2 separate regions of the Homo sapiens genome follow, and region 2 is linked to region 1. Evidence: promoter capture Hi-C in 16 types of primary human blood cells and fetal thymus (Javierre and others, 2016). All regions are on one chromosome and are shown on one strand. The core of a region is centred on a gene start or on the middle of the fragment in contact, and the rest is flanking DNA. Distances in the headings are between cores, read along the strand shown. Region 1 holds the start of CBX2 (chromobox 2). Region 2 has its middle 38 kb from the start of CBX4.

Region 1 (7,072 bases), core at 1,256-3,755:
TCTTTCTTCCACGATGTCATCCAAGCCACCCATGGGTTTTACACTCTTCTTATCTCAGGTGTTTCTGCTCTAACCAAAACCACAATCTCTCTCAACAGTTAGGACACCGTCTTAGATCCAGAGAAGCGCACCAGCCTCTGAAGTGGGCCAAGCCATTCCCCCACCCCAAGGCTCACAGCACCCAGACAGGAACTAACAGAAGACGATGGGTTGCTGTTACGATTTTCCAAAGGGATTTAAGCAAGCACAGGCTCTTCTTTTTGCTCGCCCCACCAGAAAACTCTATTTCCCCATTATCATGACCCCTCTGGGAAGACCCAATATGTCCCGCTACAGTGGAAAAAAGGGAATGCACCTTTTGCTACCAGAGAACAAACCGTCCAGATTGACCCTGGCTGGGAAAGACTCCAGCAACCAATTCTTCTGCCTCTATCCACAGGGCAAGTCCAGCCAGGGGATCCAGGGGGAGCCGTCAGTGAAACCACCCCCCATCTTGCCATTGCTTGAACAGTACTCCCTGGCCCTTCATGCCAGGTGGGCACATCCACTGCCCTCTCCTCACCACCCCTTGCCCTTGAACATCTCAAGGAGGCCTATCTCTTAACCTAAACTTCCTACCTAAAAATAGAAATGACATCTAGAATTACAGAAACAAGTCTGGCCCAATCCGGCCTCATGGTGCTACTTGGTACTGTATGCTGCAGGCCAGAGCAAAATAAATGTTTCTTTCTTGAGAGAGACATCACAATAGGCACAACTGCGTGCTGTGTGTTCCAGCTCCCTCTCTGAGCCTTCTTGCCTGATGGCACACGCGTGCAGGGCTGGAAGGGCAGACCTGCGTCACTGTGGCAAACCTGCTCTCCTGGTTTTCTGTTAGCGCCATGTGCAAATTACTCAGCAGAAAAGGCCAAGAGAAGCTATAACATCTTTATCTGAAGCAACTGAAAAAGTTGGTTTTTGCAAGTATGGCTGTCGGAAACACCAAAGCAGCACTTACTTAGGTTCTTCTCAGGGATGGATACAGGCTGGCTAGGAGAAGGTGGGAGAGGGGCTGGCTGGGGACTTTTACAGCCAGCCACAGAGATGGCCCTGGACACAATCTTGCTAAGGGACCTCAGACCACAGCCCCAGCTCCAGCCTCCCGGCAGGCGAGCAGCGCCCAGCACGACTCCAACCAGCCACCGTCCCTCCCCCACACCCTCCCCAGTGCTGTCAGCGTCCTCACTTCTTCTGGAAGGCCAGGAGCAGCCTCGGGTCCAGGATGTTCTCCTCCGGCTCCCAGCTGTTATGTCTGCAAAGCAGAGGACAGGGCAGCATTAGACGCCAGGCTGATGATCACCGCTTTGCAAGGCAGCCCGAGGGGGCTCGCCCTCACCGCTCCTCGACTTGGGCCGATGGCAGTGGCACCGTAGCACCATGGCACTTCTCAAAGTCCAAACCCAGGTTTTGGAGGCTGGCCACCCCCCACCAAGCCAGCACTCTAACCTCAGACCCAAAGGGAAACTGCCGCTCCAACCCCCCAATTAAAACAAGGCCACAAGAGGACTCCCACAGTCTCTGCCTGGGAGAAAAACAAACCCCCATAAAACGCAAAGTTGCAGAGAGGGATTCCCCCAAACCCTGGCCCGGAGCCAGAGGAGGAAGGGAAGGCAGGTCCAGCATGCAGGGAGGGGCACAGGCGCCCAGCCCGAGATCCAGAACAATGTGGCGCGCGGGCCGGGGCACCTCGAGGGGTAGCGAAGAAAGAGCGGGGTCCGGGAAGACGCAGAAACGGGGCCGCGGGAGCAGCTGTGCAGAGAGCCCCTTCCGGGGATGCCAAACACCCTCCCTTCCATTAAAAGAAAGAAAAAAAAAAAGAAACTCTACATCCATCAATAGCAAGCTCAGGTTACAGCGGGGAGAATCTGGCCAAGAGGAGGGGGGCTTGCATCCCGCGCCTCCCTCCCGGCCGGGACGGGGGTTGGGGGGAGCGCGGCGCGGCAGCCGAGGAGGTTCTGGCGCGGGGGGCCGCCCAGCTCTGCACCCGCGGGCGTGTAAACAAAGGGCAACCTCGGGCCGGGCGGCCCCCGCCCCCCTCAGAGCCGGAGGAGCCCGCGGGGACCCCGCGAACTTCCCGCTCTGCCCGCGGGCGCCCCCAGGCCACCGGACGGCGCGGCCGAGGGGCTCCACGTCCCCACCCCCGGGCGAGGGGGCGGGAGGGGGGCGCGGCGTCGCGGGGGACTCACTTGGAGGACCAGCCGCGCCACTTGACCAGGTACTCCAGCTTGCCCTGCGGGGAGAGAAGAGGGGCCGTGAGCCAGACGGACAGCGGGCGGCGGGCGGGGGGCCCGGCGGGCCGCACGCACCTTGCGGAGCCGCTTGCTCAGGATGCACTCGGCGGCGAAGACCTGCTCGCCCACGCTGCTCAGCTCCTCCATGCTGCCCGGCAGCCAGCCCGACCGCGGCGCCCGCCGCCAGTCACCCGCCCGGACCGCCGCGCGCCCCGCCGGCAGCACACAAAGCACCGCCCCCGCCCGGCGCCGGCCCGCCCCGCGCACGCGCACCGCCGCTCCGCGCCCGCGCCCCGGCCCGCCGCCCGCCCCCGCGCGCTGCCCAAATCCCGTGCGGGCCAATCAGCGAGGGGGGGCGGGTGCGGGGCGGGGCGGGGCGCGCATTGTCCGCGGCGGGCTGGGCCTCGCGCTCCGGCGGGGGGTCCCGCGCGGGGCCCCGGGCGGGGGCGGGGGCGGGGGTGGGGGCGCGGGCGGGCCCCTGGCTGGGGGAGGAGGTGCCTAGGGACTTCGGGCCTGGGGCGCCCACCGAGTCCCGCGTGATTCCCGGGGCGCGCCCGCCCTTGCTCCCAACTCCGTTTTCCGGGCAAAAAGCCATTGTTCTGGCCCGAAGGGAGGGAAGCGGGACGGGGCGCGGCGGCTGCTTCCTGCCCCCGCCTTCGAGGGGCGCTGCTCCGGGGCACGCGGGGCCCCACCCTTCCCCCGGCTTCTTGAACTGGCTTTTCCTCGGCAGCGGGGGAGTCGCTCTGTTTTGGACGAGAGCAAAACGGGTCGGGGGCTGGGGAAGGAAAGGAAGACGAAGTCCGGGGGAGGGGCCCACAAACCCCAGCAGCCGAGGCTTTTTCCCCCAAAGGCGAGAGAGGAAAATGCTTTAACTTAAACCACCAAGCACTCTGAGAAAGAAGTAATACGAACTGCCCGGAGTTCTTATTAAACAGCTATGAAAAGTGGATCCAGCCCCCGAGTTTTAGGGCACGTGTAGGGAGAAAACCAGCTGCACCTTTTCTGAATTTGTTCCCCGATTTTGATGAAATGGAGGGGGAGGGGGCGGTTTGCAAGGCTGTTCCTAACTTCGGACTAGGTCAGTAGTGGCCCGCCAGGGCTGGGCAGCCGGCGTCCTTCGGATCAATTGTCCGCGGCAGAAAAGGGTCAGGCCATGTTATGAAAGTGGGGGTGACCCCTTGTCCTCCCTGTGATCGTCGTCAGCAGGCTACCCTTTTATTCCGGTGTTAAGATTCGAATTCCATGAAGAATCACCCTTTAAGTTATTTAGATTTTGAATCAGGACAAGTCAAACACGTAATGAAAGAGACCTGAGCCTTAGCTTCATTCGTCTCAACGCAGTCTAACTCCATGAAAATTCACTCTCTGCTTTTCTTGCTTCCTTGAACACAGCTGCAAAATTCTCTTTCTGTTGAGCAGATCCAAAAGTCGTTTCTTGTTGTAGGAGACTGTCTCAATGTAATTGTGATCATCAAAACCATATTTATAAAGGGTTCTGCAGGAGAAATGTGTTTTTTTGTTTTTACAGAAAGGCCTACTGGAGAAAATACTGAACTGTAGGAACCGATCTTTCAATTTATGGCGTGTTCTTCAGTTTCTTTGGTTAGATAGGTTACATTCATTTGATTTCCTGGAGAGTACGTGCAAATTCAGATGTTGTTTGCAAAGAGGGCAGGAGAAAGGGAAATGTCCTTGGGGGGAAGGTGTTTGTTTACTCAGGGGCAGAGGCAGTAAAGAATCCTTGTGTTGGGATAAAACTGGCCTCTGGAGTGAAGGGATCCGCTAACAGTGTCTCCGCCGGCTCCTTTTGTATCCCTGTCTTGTGCAGCTTGGCAGTAAATTGTGGAGTTGAGGGCAAAGGTGTATTTATTGTAATCCTACAAATAGCTGGATCAGTTTCACATCACGTTTCCTTGCAGAATTCATCTTGGGTCTAAGATTTTGCCCTGGAAGTTTCCAGTTTCCTCTTTGACTCATGGTATGCTGGGATACTTGCTTGATTTCTTTTTAAAGAAAAGAAGGCTTTGAAAAGGGAATGATTTCTTTGCTTAAGAAATAAATTTGCTAGAATTTGATACTAACACATTGAAAAAAATAAATCAGCGTCCAGGAAGGTTTAACATGTACATCATCTACCCAACTGCAAACAGTTTGGGTAAAATAATATTTAGATAATTCATTTGGAGAAACAAATATGACAGATTTGGCCAGAATGAAATAATCAGATACATTCTGTGAACGTGTGATCCAAAATCTGTGGCACGTTCCCTAAAAACAAAGCTGGGAATAGGCAGAAGGGAAGAATAACCCCCAGCTAATCCAACTGTGTAAAACAAGCGGACGTCTTCCGTTTTGACTGTCACATTTTAAGAATTATTAAGACAAGTTAAAACTAATTATTGTATTATTCATTCGACAGATAGTTAGTATGTACTATCATGTGGGCACTACTAGATATCCAGTAGTATAAGACCGTAGCAGCAGCTCCATCTGTGGGTGATGGAAGTGGATGGACAGAGCCTCCCTCCACTGCGTCCAGTGTGGTGGCCGTTAGGCACCTGGGACTGCTGAGCACTGGCAGTGTGGCTAGTGCCACTGAAGGCTCGAATTTTAAATTGTATTTCACTTTAATTCATTTCAGTGGGAGTAGCCACATGTAGCTGGTGGTCACTGTACTGGACACTTTGCAGGTCCACAGGAATGAGAGGGATCTGCTTTAAACATATTTTAAATGAAAGTAATACGGTTACATAAATTAATCCTGGAATATGAATAGTTTACCTACACTCACAGTTATGCTTAATTATATACAAGAATGTTTAAAACACATACAAAAAAGATATTAAAAATCCAGGCACAGAGGAAGACATTCAGGGAGTACAGACTTTGTATAGTACTGATTTCCTTTCTACGCAAGTGATAAGGACAAGTATTAACTTATTCGTGTCTGAAATGCTACTAAGAAAGCATAAGTATTTTCACGCTATGCTTGTGGATCGAAAATTACAGATGCCAAAGCAAAGAATGTCTCACTCTGAAGTCAATGGAAAAGTCAGGAATTGAGATCAATCCAGTGACCCTGGATTTGGCAGCTGTAACTAGGTAACAGTAGTTACTTCTTAACCAAATACTTTCAAACAGCTCTTAGATTTTCTAAAAGCACTGTCTCCCTACTGCCATCAGCGGTGTTGGCTAAAAGGAGGAACCAGACACCACCACCAGCCGGTCTGCATGGGATACACTCAGGATTTAGAATACATCACACATTTACATCACATTTAATATCTCATGTCGTAATTTGCCCCCAGCTCCTCTGCACATTTGCAAGACTAAGGTGTGACTTACAGGCTAGCTGTGTTAATGTCACGCCGTTTCTGTGTATGTAATATGTGAATATTACATATGCGGGACAGACCGTGTTTGTGTATCAGAACTCAAGTAAAAATAAGCACAGTTCAGGCACTTGCAGGATCCCTCAAGCTTTCAGTTTGCCTAAGGACCCCTGGGCACACGATGCACATGTCCGCCCCTGGATTCTGACCCAGGACAAGCCAGAGGCAGCCCAGGGCTCTCAGCGTTTAGAACACTTCTTACAAAGGGCAGCCTGCCCAATCCCTCGCTGTGCACATGAGGCAGGAGAATACAAACTGTATCAGGTACAGGACCGTGGAGCCTGGGCCTGCTGTTTCCCATGTTGGCCTGGGAGGGGCAAATGGGCAGGCTGTTCTGGAAGTGGTGGAGAGCCTGCTCTCAGGAGGCCTTCCAAGGTCAAAGGCTGGAGCAACCCCGTATGTTTCTCGGACTCCACTCACCCTCACCCACCAGGCCACCTAGCTCATTGCAGCACACCTAAAGACAGGCTCAGGCTGGAGGCACCCCCCTTCCCCGCCCCGATCCTGGAGGCAGGGGGTGGTTAAGGAACACAGTTATAGGAGGTGGGAAATGGACAATGAGCTCATTTATGATGACAGTCCCCTTGCAGGAGGTCTCCATTACATGAAGCTTTTATTTTAAAGAGTGTCATTTATTAATTTTGCAATCAGATCGGTCCCTGATTCCAGTTTCTTACTATTAAAACAGTGCAGCAATGACCATCTTTGTCTTCCCATGTGCAAAGTACCAGCGTATCTACAGAATAGCATGCACAGAGCTGTCTTAAAAGGGTATGTCTTCTCTATGGGAGAAAGGAACAAAAGAAGATACATGGCTCTACCTTTCTGAGTTAGCTATTGTCAAACTGCCCTCCGAGGGTCTGCACCAATTCACAGTCACAGCCCGGGTAGATGGGGTTGCCTCTGTCCCCACTTCTCAGTAACTCTAGTAAGTGCAAGTGATCCAGTGATGTCTGAGCAACCTGATGCTCAGCTGGTCCGGCAGTTCCGCGCGCATGCCACCTCGGCTTTTTCCAGGACCTTTCCCGGGTGCAGAATTTTTACAGTGCAAAACGGTTTTATGAGCGTAATTTTCCAGTGTGAAATGCAGTATTTTCACAATTTAAAAAATAACAGGCCAGGTGCAGTGACTTACGCCTGTCATCCCAGCACTTTGGGAGGCCGAGGCAGGTGGATCACAAGGTTGGGAGTTCAAGACCAGCCTGGCTAAGATGGTGAAACCCGATCTCTACTAAAAATACAAAAATTAGCCGGGAGTGGTGGCGCGTGCCTGTAATCCCAGCTACTCGGGAGGCTGAAGCAGAGAATTGCTTGAACCCAGGAGGCGGAGGTTGCAGTGAGACGAGATGGCACCACTGCACTCCAGTCTGGGCGACAGAGCGAGACTCCATCTCAAAAAGCAAAACAAAG
Region 2 (7,072 bases), core at 3,092-5,591, 98 kb before region 1:
CTCAAAAAAAAAAAAAAAAAAAAAAAAAAGTAACACCTCCCGGCTTTGGCAAGTGAAACCATGCAAAGATAAACAAAGAAAAGTTCACCATTTTCCCACCTTCCCTCCAATCTCACTTCTCCAAGGCATTCAGGGTCAGCAGCCAGTTTGGGACTGGTCCATGGATTCCTCCTATTCATACCCCACTGGTGGAGGGTAGCAGGATTATTTCTTGCTTCATATTAAAAAATGGAGATCATAACATACAGTGTCTATTTGGTATTCCCCCCTCTTTATCAAATATTTGATGGACATCCCCTTTCATGGTAATTGGCCTAGATTTAACTCATTCCATTTCAAGGCTGCCATGTGTAAATTTGCTACAATTTGTGTGTGTCGGGGAACGGGGGCTGCGGGCAGTTGAGAGCATTTTGCTCTGTCGCCCAGGCTAGAGCGCAGCAGTGCTATCACAGCTCACTGCATCCTCAACCTACCAGGCTCAGGCAATCCTCCTGCCTTAGCCTCCCTAGTAGCTGGGATCACAGGCATATGCCACCATGCCTGGCTAATGTTTTTGGTTTCTTTTTTTAGAAAAAGTCTTGCTCTATCACCCAGGCTGGAGTGCAGTGGCACAATCTTGGCTCAACCTCCACTTCCCTAGTTCAAGCGATTCTCCTGCCTCAGTCTCCCGAGTAGCTAGGATTACAGGCACGGGCCTGTATCCTAAACCACAACCAGCTGATTTTTGTATTTTTAGTGGAGAAGGGGTTTCACCATGTTGGCCAGGCTAGTCTCGAACTCCTGGCCTCAGGTGATCCACCTGCCTTGCCCTCCCAAACTGCTGGGATTACAGACATGAGCCACCATGCCTGGCCAATGGCTGGCTAATTTTTAAAATTATTTATAGAGATGGGATCGCATTATGTTGCCCAAGCTTGTCTTGAACTCCTGGGCTCAAGTAATCATTCTGCCTTGGCCTCCCAAAGTGCTGGGATTACAGGTGTCAACCACTGTGGCTGCCCTAAATATGCTACAATTATATACTTATAAAGATGTGCATTCACAAATTACTTCCAATTTCTTTATTTTTTTTGTTTTGCTTTGGTTTCACCACCATAGACAGTGCCGAAAAAGCATTCTTTTTTTTTTTTTTTTTTTTGAGGTGGAGTCTCACTCTGTTGACCAGGCTGGAGTGCAGTGGGGCCATATCAGCTCACTGTAACCTCCGCCTCCTGGGCTCAAGTGATTCTCCTGCCTCAGCCTCCTGAGTAGCTGGGATTACAGGTGTGTGACACCATGCCCAGCTAATTTTGTATTTTTAGTAGAAACAGGGTTTCACCATGTTGGCCTAGCTGGTCTCGAACTCCTGACCTCAGGTGATCCACCTGCCTCAGCCTCCCAAAATGCTGGAATTACAGGCATGAGCCACCGCACCCAGCTGGAAAAGCAATTCTTTTACATCTATTTTCATACCCCGTTGTTTTTGTTTCTAAAGAAGAGGTTCCCCAGAGTGGAATCACTGGGTCAAAGCTTATGTGTATTATTTTCATTTTAGTAGATATTGCCAGAGTACTTTCCCAGGAAGTAATTGCATTCACATTTCCACCAAGCATGTCCATGTCTATTTCCCCCAGGTTTTTTGCCTCAGTGAATCTTAGAGCTTTTATTAAATTTTAGCAACCTAAAGGGCGAACAATGTATCACTTCATGGCCTTAATTTGCATTTTCCTTTTGATGAGGCTAAACATTGCTTCATGTTTGCTCACTAGAACCAATGTTGGTCATCGTATCTGTATCTTTAAATAATGTCATATTTTACTAGGGTTTGCATATATTTTAAGTGCAATTGACTATGTGAATTTCCTTTTCTATGAATTACTTGTTTATATTTATGCCTATTTTTCTGTTGAGTTGTTTATCTGTTTCTTATCAAATTTGTGGGCTTTTTGAATATTGAGAAAATTAAACATGATACACACATATACATGCCTCACACATCATGTATATACCCAAATATGTGCATCTTTCTCTCACACACACACCCATACAATAGAGAGAACGACATGTTCCCGGGCACAGTCCAGCGGGAAAATCAGGGCCTGGAGGGGTAGGTGTGGAGCAGAGGGCAGGCAGAGGGCTGTGGGTGCACAGCACAGCTGATCCAGACCTTGGAAAGGGTTGGACCCCACTTGGCCTGCTATGACGTTCTCTTCCACTTCTGACATCCATATGAGGAAACGCAGGGGACCCTGCACCCCACGCCCTGGAATCCCTGGCCAGCACACCTGGTCTCCACCCTCCCCACCCATGAAATGGCTGTACCAGCAGGGGACAAATGGAGCCGGGCCTTGCTCCCACGTCCTGCTGCAGTAGCTTCCAGGAGCCTCAGTGCAGGTGCCTCCCACCTGATGTGTCTTTGGGGTGTTTTGAATGAGCAGCTTTTGGCGCGTGGAAGAGAATTGATTTCTCCTCCTGCTTCTGAGGCTCCACTCCTAAGGCCTTGATTACAGGAGGCCCTGGGGCTGGGGAGCGCTGGTGTCAGCCTGGCAGGTGCAGGTGATGTCAGCTCCCAGGCAATGACGTTGGGGTGGGTATGGGCACCATTCTGTGCCTGGATTCACTCTGTCATTTAACCCCTGTGTTCACAGAGTTCCCCAGGCCCAGCACCCCTCACTTTTCATGGCTTTGTCAGCATCAGGATGTGTCAGCCATCAGGAGACCTTCCCCATCCTCCTCCCCCCGGACCATCATCAAACCCACTCTCCTTCCCTCTTATGCCCTCACAGGAGGAACCTCTACCCGCAAGCTCAGGGTCAATTCCACTCCGGAACCACGTATGCAGCTCCCATAGGCACTGTAGGAGGTGCTGGTGATGGAGCAATGAGCCCAGCCCTGGCCCCGGGAGAGCATTATGTCCTCAGTTTCTCTTCTCTGGCTGCATCTTCAGCCTTCCTTCCACCAGGTCCTTCCCACTGGCTTCCAAACTTACTTCCATATGGCCCCTCTTAAAAAATAAAACAGAACCTGCATTCCAGACAAGATGATCTAGGCTCATTTCTTCCTGCTCCTCCCCTCTCAAAGTACAACCATAAGCCCTGGAAATAACACAAGAGACAACCCAAGGAGAACGCAGAGGTGGATGGAAGACAGTCGACAGGTGAGAGCCCCCGGACTGGAGGAGCCCCAGTGAGGCAGAGCGCCACGGCCCTCCACCTCGTGGAGGAAGGGAACCCAGGCCCAGCAAAAACAGACAAGCCAGATAGGGTCCTCTGTGTCCCCAGATTAAACAGGAGTCCCGTCCACAACATGTGGTAAGCTAGTGGCACCAGCAAAGGAACAAGCAGGGGCCCCATCACCCCGCTACTGAGACTTGGCCAGAGAAACCTCCCCTCCCCCACCAAGAGATGCCAGGGGCAGGGGTCACCTGCAGGAGGAACCTTTGTCTTCTTTGTCCCTGTGGGCTGCGGCTCCCTTCACCCACCTAGAAGCACCCACAGACACTCCTTCTGCCACCTTAAGAAGAACCAGCAGGAACCAGTAGCAGCCCCGATGGCACCAGATTAACCACGCCGACCAAACTAACACCAAAAAGGTTCTGCTAATTAGGTTGTCATGGAAACCACAGCCAGTAACAGTAGGGCAGGACCGGCATGCTAAACCTAAGCAGAGTGGCTGCCTACTAAAATAAAAGATTTATTTTATTTTATTTTATTTATTATTATTATTTTAGAGACAGGGTCTCACTCTGTGGCCCAAGCTGGAGTGCAGTGGCACGATCACAGCTCACTACAGCCTCGACCTCCCAGGCTCAAGTGATCCTCCCAGCTCAGCCTCCTGAGTAGCTGGGACTACAGATATATGCCACCACGCCTGGCTAATTTTTTAAATTTTTTGTAGAGACGGGAGTCTCACTATGTTGCTCAGACTAGTCTTGAACTCCTGGGCTCAAGCAATCCTTCTGCCTCAGCCTCCCAAAGTGCTCAGATTACAAGTGTGAGCCACCGCGCTGGCCAAAAGATTTGACGAGAGCCCAGAGCCTCCTAATGTAACAGCTTAAATGTCCAGGACACAATAAAAAAAAAAACTCGCCCATCATACCAAGGCCTGAAAAGGCCACAGGTTGAATGAGAAAAGACAACCAACCAATGCCAACACCGGGATAAATCAGATGTAGGAAAAATCTGGCCAGGACTTCAGAGCAGCATAAAAATGCTTTAGCAAGCAATTCTAAGTTATCTTGAAACATGAAAAAATAGAAAATCTCAGCAAATAGTTATCAGCAAGAACAGGATATAAATTACAGCACTGAAAAATACAATAACAGAAATGAACAGTCTCCATGGTAGAATGGGATCATAGAGGACAGAATTAGCGAACTTCAGAACAGATGGATAGAATTTACCCAAACTGAACAACAGAAAGTATACTGGTGTGGGGAGAAAAAGAACAGTACCTCAGGCATCTGTGGAACGATAGAACAAAAGATCCAACATACATATTATTGGAGTTACCCAGAAATAGGGGAGAAAAAGAAAGAGGCTGAGGCCTGGTGTGGTGGCTCACGCCTGTAATCCCAGCACTTTGGGAGGCTGAGGCGGGTGGATCACCTGAGGTCAGGAGTTCTAAACCAGCCTGGCCAACATGATGAAACCCCGTCTCTACTAAAAATACAAAAATTAGCCAGGCGAGGTGGCATGTGCCTGTAATCCCAGCTACTCGGACGCTAAGGCAGCAGAATCACTTGAAACCAGGAGGCAGAGCTTGCAGTGAGCTGAGATGGCGCCACTGCACTCCAGCATGGGCGACAGAGCGAGAATCTGACTCAAAAAAAAAAAAAAAAAAAAAAAAAAAATGAGGCTGAAAGAGTATTAAAAGAACGAGTGGCTTAAAACTTCTGAAATTTGCCAAATGACAAATCTACACATTCAAGAAGCTGAGCAAGTCCCAGATAGTTACCCAAAGAAATCCATGCTGAGACACCTGATAATTAAACTTCTGAAAACTAAAGAAAAAAAATATGTTGAAAGCTGCCAGAACAAAATGATACATTCCCTGTAGGGGAACACCCACTCAAACCATAGATTCCTCATCAGAAACCACGGAGACCAGGTGAAGGTGAGTGTTTGCAAGTGCTGCAAACAAAGAATTGCCAACAGCGAATCATGTCTGGCAAAACCATCCTTCAGGAATGAAGGGGAAATAAAGACATTCTGAGATTTTAAAGCGGCTTAAAAATATTTCAGTGGCAATTACAAGTTCTCTTGAAACAAATGAAAAAATAGAAAATCTATTTTTTTTCTGAACGAATTTGTTGCTAGCAGACCTGCCCTTAAAGAACAGCTAAAGGAAGTTTTTTCACAAAGAAAGAAAATGATTTTTAAAATAAAATGGGCTGGGCGTGGTGGCTCATGCCTGTAATCCTAGCACTTTGGGATGCTGAGGTGGCTGGATCACCTGAGGTCAGGAGTTCAAGACCAGCCTGGCCAACATGGTGAAACCCTGTCTCTACTAAAAATACAAAAATTAGCCGGGCATGGTGGCACATGCCTGTAATGCCAGCTACTCGGGAGGCTGAGTCAGGAGAAGTGCTGGAACCCGGGAGGCGGAGGCTGCAGCGAGCCGAGATCACGCCACTGCACTCCAGCCTGGGCGACGGAGAGAGACTCTATTTCAAATAATAATAAATAAAATAAAATAAAATAAAATGGAATCTTGGAGCATTAAGAAGGAAAAAATAATGGAAAGAACAAGTGTATGGGAATCTGCAATAGATGATCCTTCTCATGAGCTTTATAAATCAAATTTAATGATTGAAGCAAAAATTCTAACACTGTCTGATATTCAAGACAATGATATTTAAAAAGGTGTGGTGGGGGGTGCAGTGGCCCACGCCTGTAATCCCAGCACTTTGGGAGGCTGAAGCATGAGAATCCTTTGAGCCCAGGTGTTAAAGACCAGCCCAGGCAACATAGTGAGACCCCATCTCTACAATCAATCAATCAATCAATAGGCCAGGTGTGGTGACATGTGCCTGTAGTCCTGGTTACTCAGGCAGCTGAGGCAGGAAGATCACTTAAGAACAGGAGGTTGAGGCTGCGGTGAGCCGTGATTGTGCCACTGCACTCCAGCCTGGGCAACAAAGTGAGACCCTGTCTCAAAAATAACATAAAATGAAAATAAAAGGGGGACAGGTTAAAGAACCTACATGGAAGTAAGGCTTCCACATTCACTGCAGGTGGTAAAATGCTACCCGTGTACCTTGTAATAACCAGAGCGACCACTAGGGAAGTGATACAAAGAAACGCCCTCTAGATGACTATAAATCAACCAAGATGAACCTCAATCCTAATGTTCAAGGAATCCACAGAAAAGCAAGAAAACATACACAGAGAAAACAAATCCTTAAATGGCAGACCTAAGTCCTAACATATTGATAATTTTCTTTAAAGGTAAATGAAATACACCAAGTAAAAAGCAAGAGATTGGCAGTCTATTTTTTGAAAAACAACCTAACCATACACTGTTTACAAGAAACTCGCTTCAAATTCAATGGTGACATTTCACCAAAGAGAATATACAGATGGCAAGTGAGCACATGAAAAGCTGTCCAACACCATGAGCCATGGGGGGAATGCAAATTAGAACCACAGTGAGATACCATCAACACCTATCAGAAATTAAAAATAGTGGCAACGCCAAATGCTGGTGGGGATGCACAGAAATAGGATCACTCAGAAAATGCTACCGGGGGCCAGGCGTGGTGGCTCACGCCTGTAATCCCAGCACTCTGGGAGGCCAAGGCGGGTGGATCACCTGAGGTCAGGAGTTCGGAACCAGCCTGGCCAACATGGTGAAACCCTATCTCTACAAAAATTAGCTGGGCATGATGGCGGGTGTCTATAATCCCAGCTACTCGGGAGGCTGAGGCAGGAGTGTTGCTTGAACTGAGGAGGTACAAGTTGCAGTGAGCCAAGATCGTGCCATTGCACTCCAGCCTCGGCGACAGAGCAAAACTCCGTCTCGAAAAAAAAAAAAAAGAAAAAAACAAGAAAAAGAAACTGCTACTGGTCCTGTCACATGGTGCAGCCCCTCT

Evidence for each region. Contacts are between HindIII fragments. The CHiCAGO score rates a contact against its expected background, and 5 or more counts as called.
Region 2: a fragment that was not itself captured here is called in contact with the fragment with the promoter of CBX2 in region 1 in 1 of 17 cell types (monocytes); the score reaches 5.7 in monocytes.

The regions. Positions count from the first base shown.
Region 1 is chr17:79,773,581-79,780,652 of GRCh38, reverse strand. It overlaps CBX2 (chromobox 2), which reads right to left and starts at 2,505. Exons shown (of 5, transcript NM_005189.3): 1 at 2,346-2,505; 2 at 2,226-2,269; 3 at 1,226-1,291. The coding sequence starts at 2,417. RefSeq lists an enhancer at 1,252-1,845 and silencers at 2,241-2,310, 2,321-2,700. The HindIII fragment of the contact is 13,003 bases long and covers 1-5,752 here.
Region 2 is chr17:79,873,744-79,880,815 of GRCh38, reverse strand. No RefSeq gene overlaps it. Among named protein-coding and RNA genes, the nearest start is that of CBX4, 38 kb to the right of the region's middle. The HindIII fragment of the contact is 5,659 bases long and covers 1,512-7,072 here.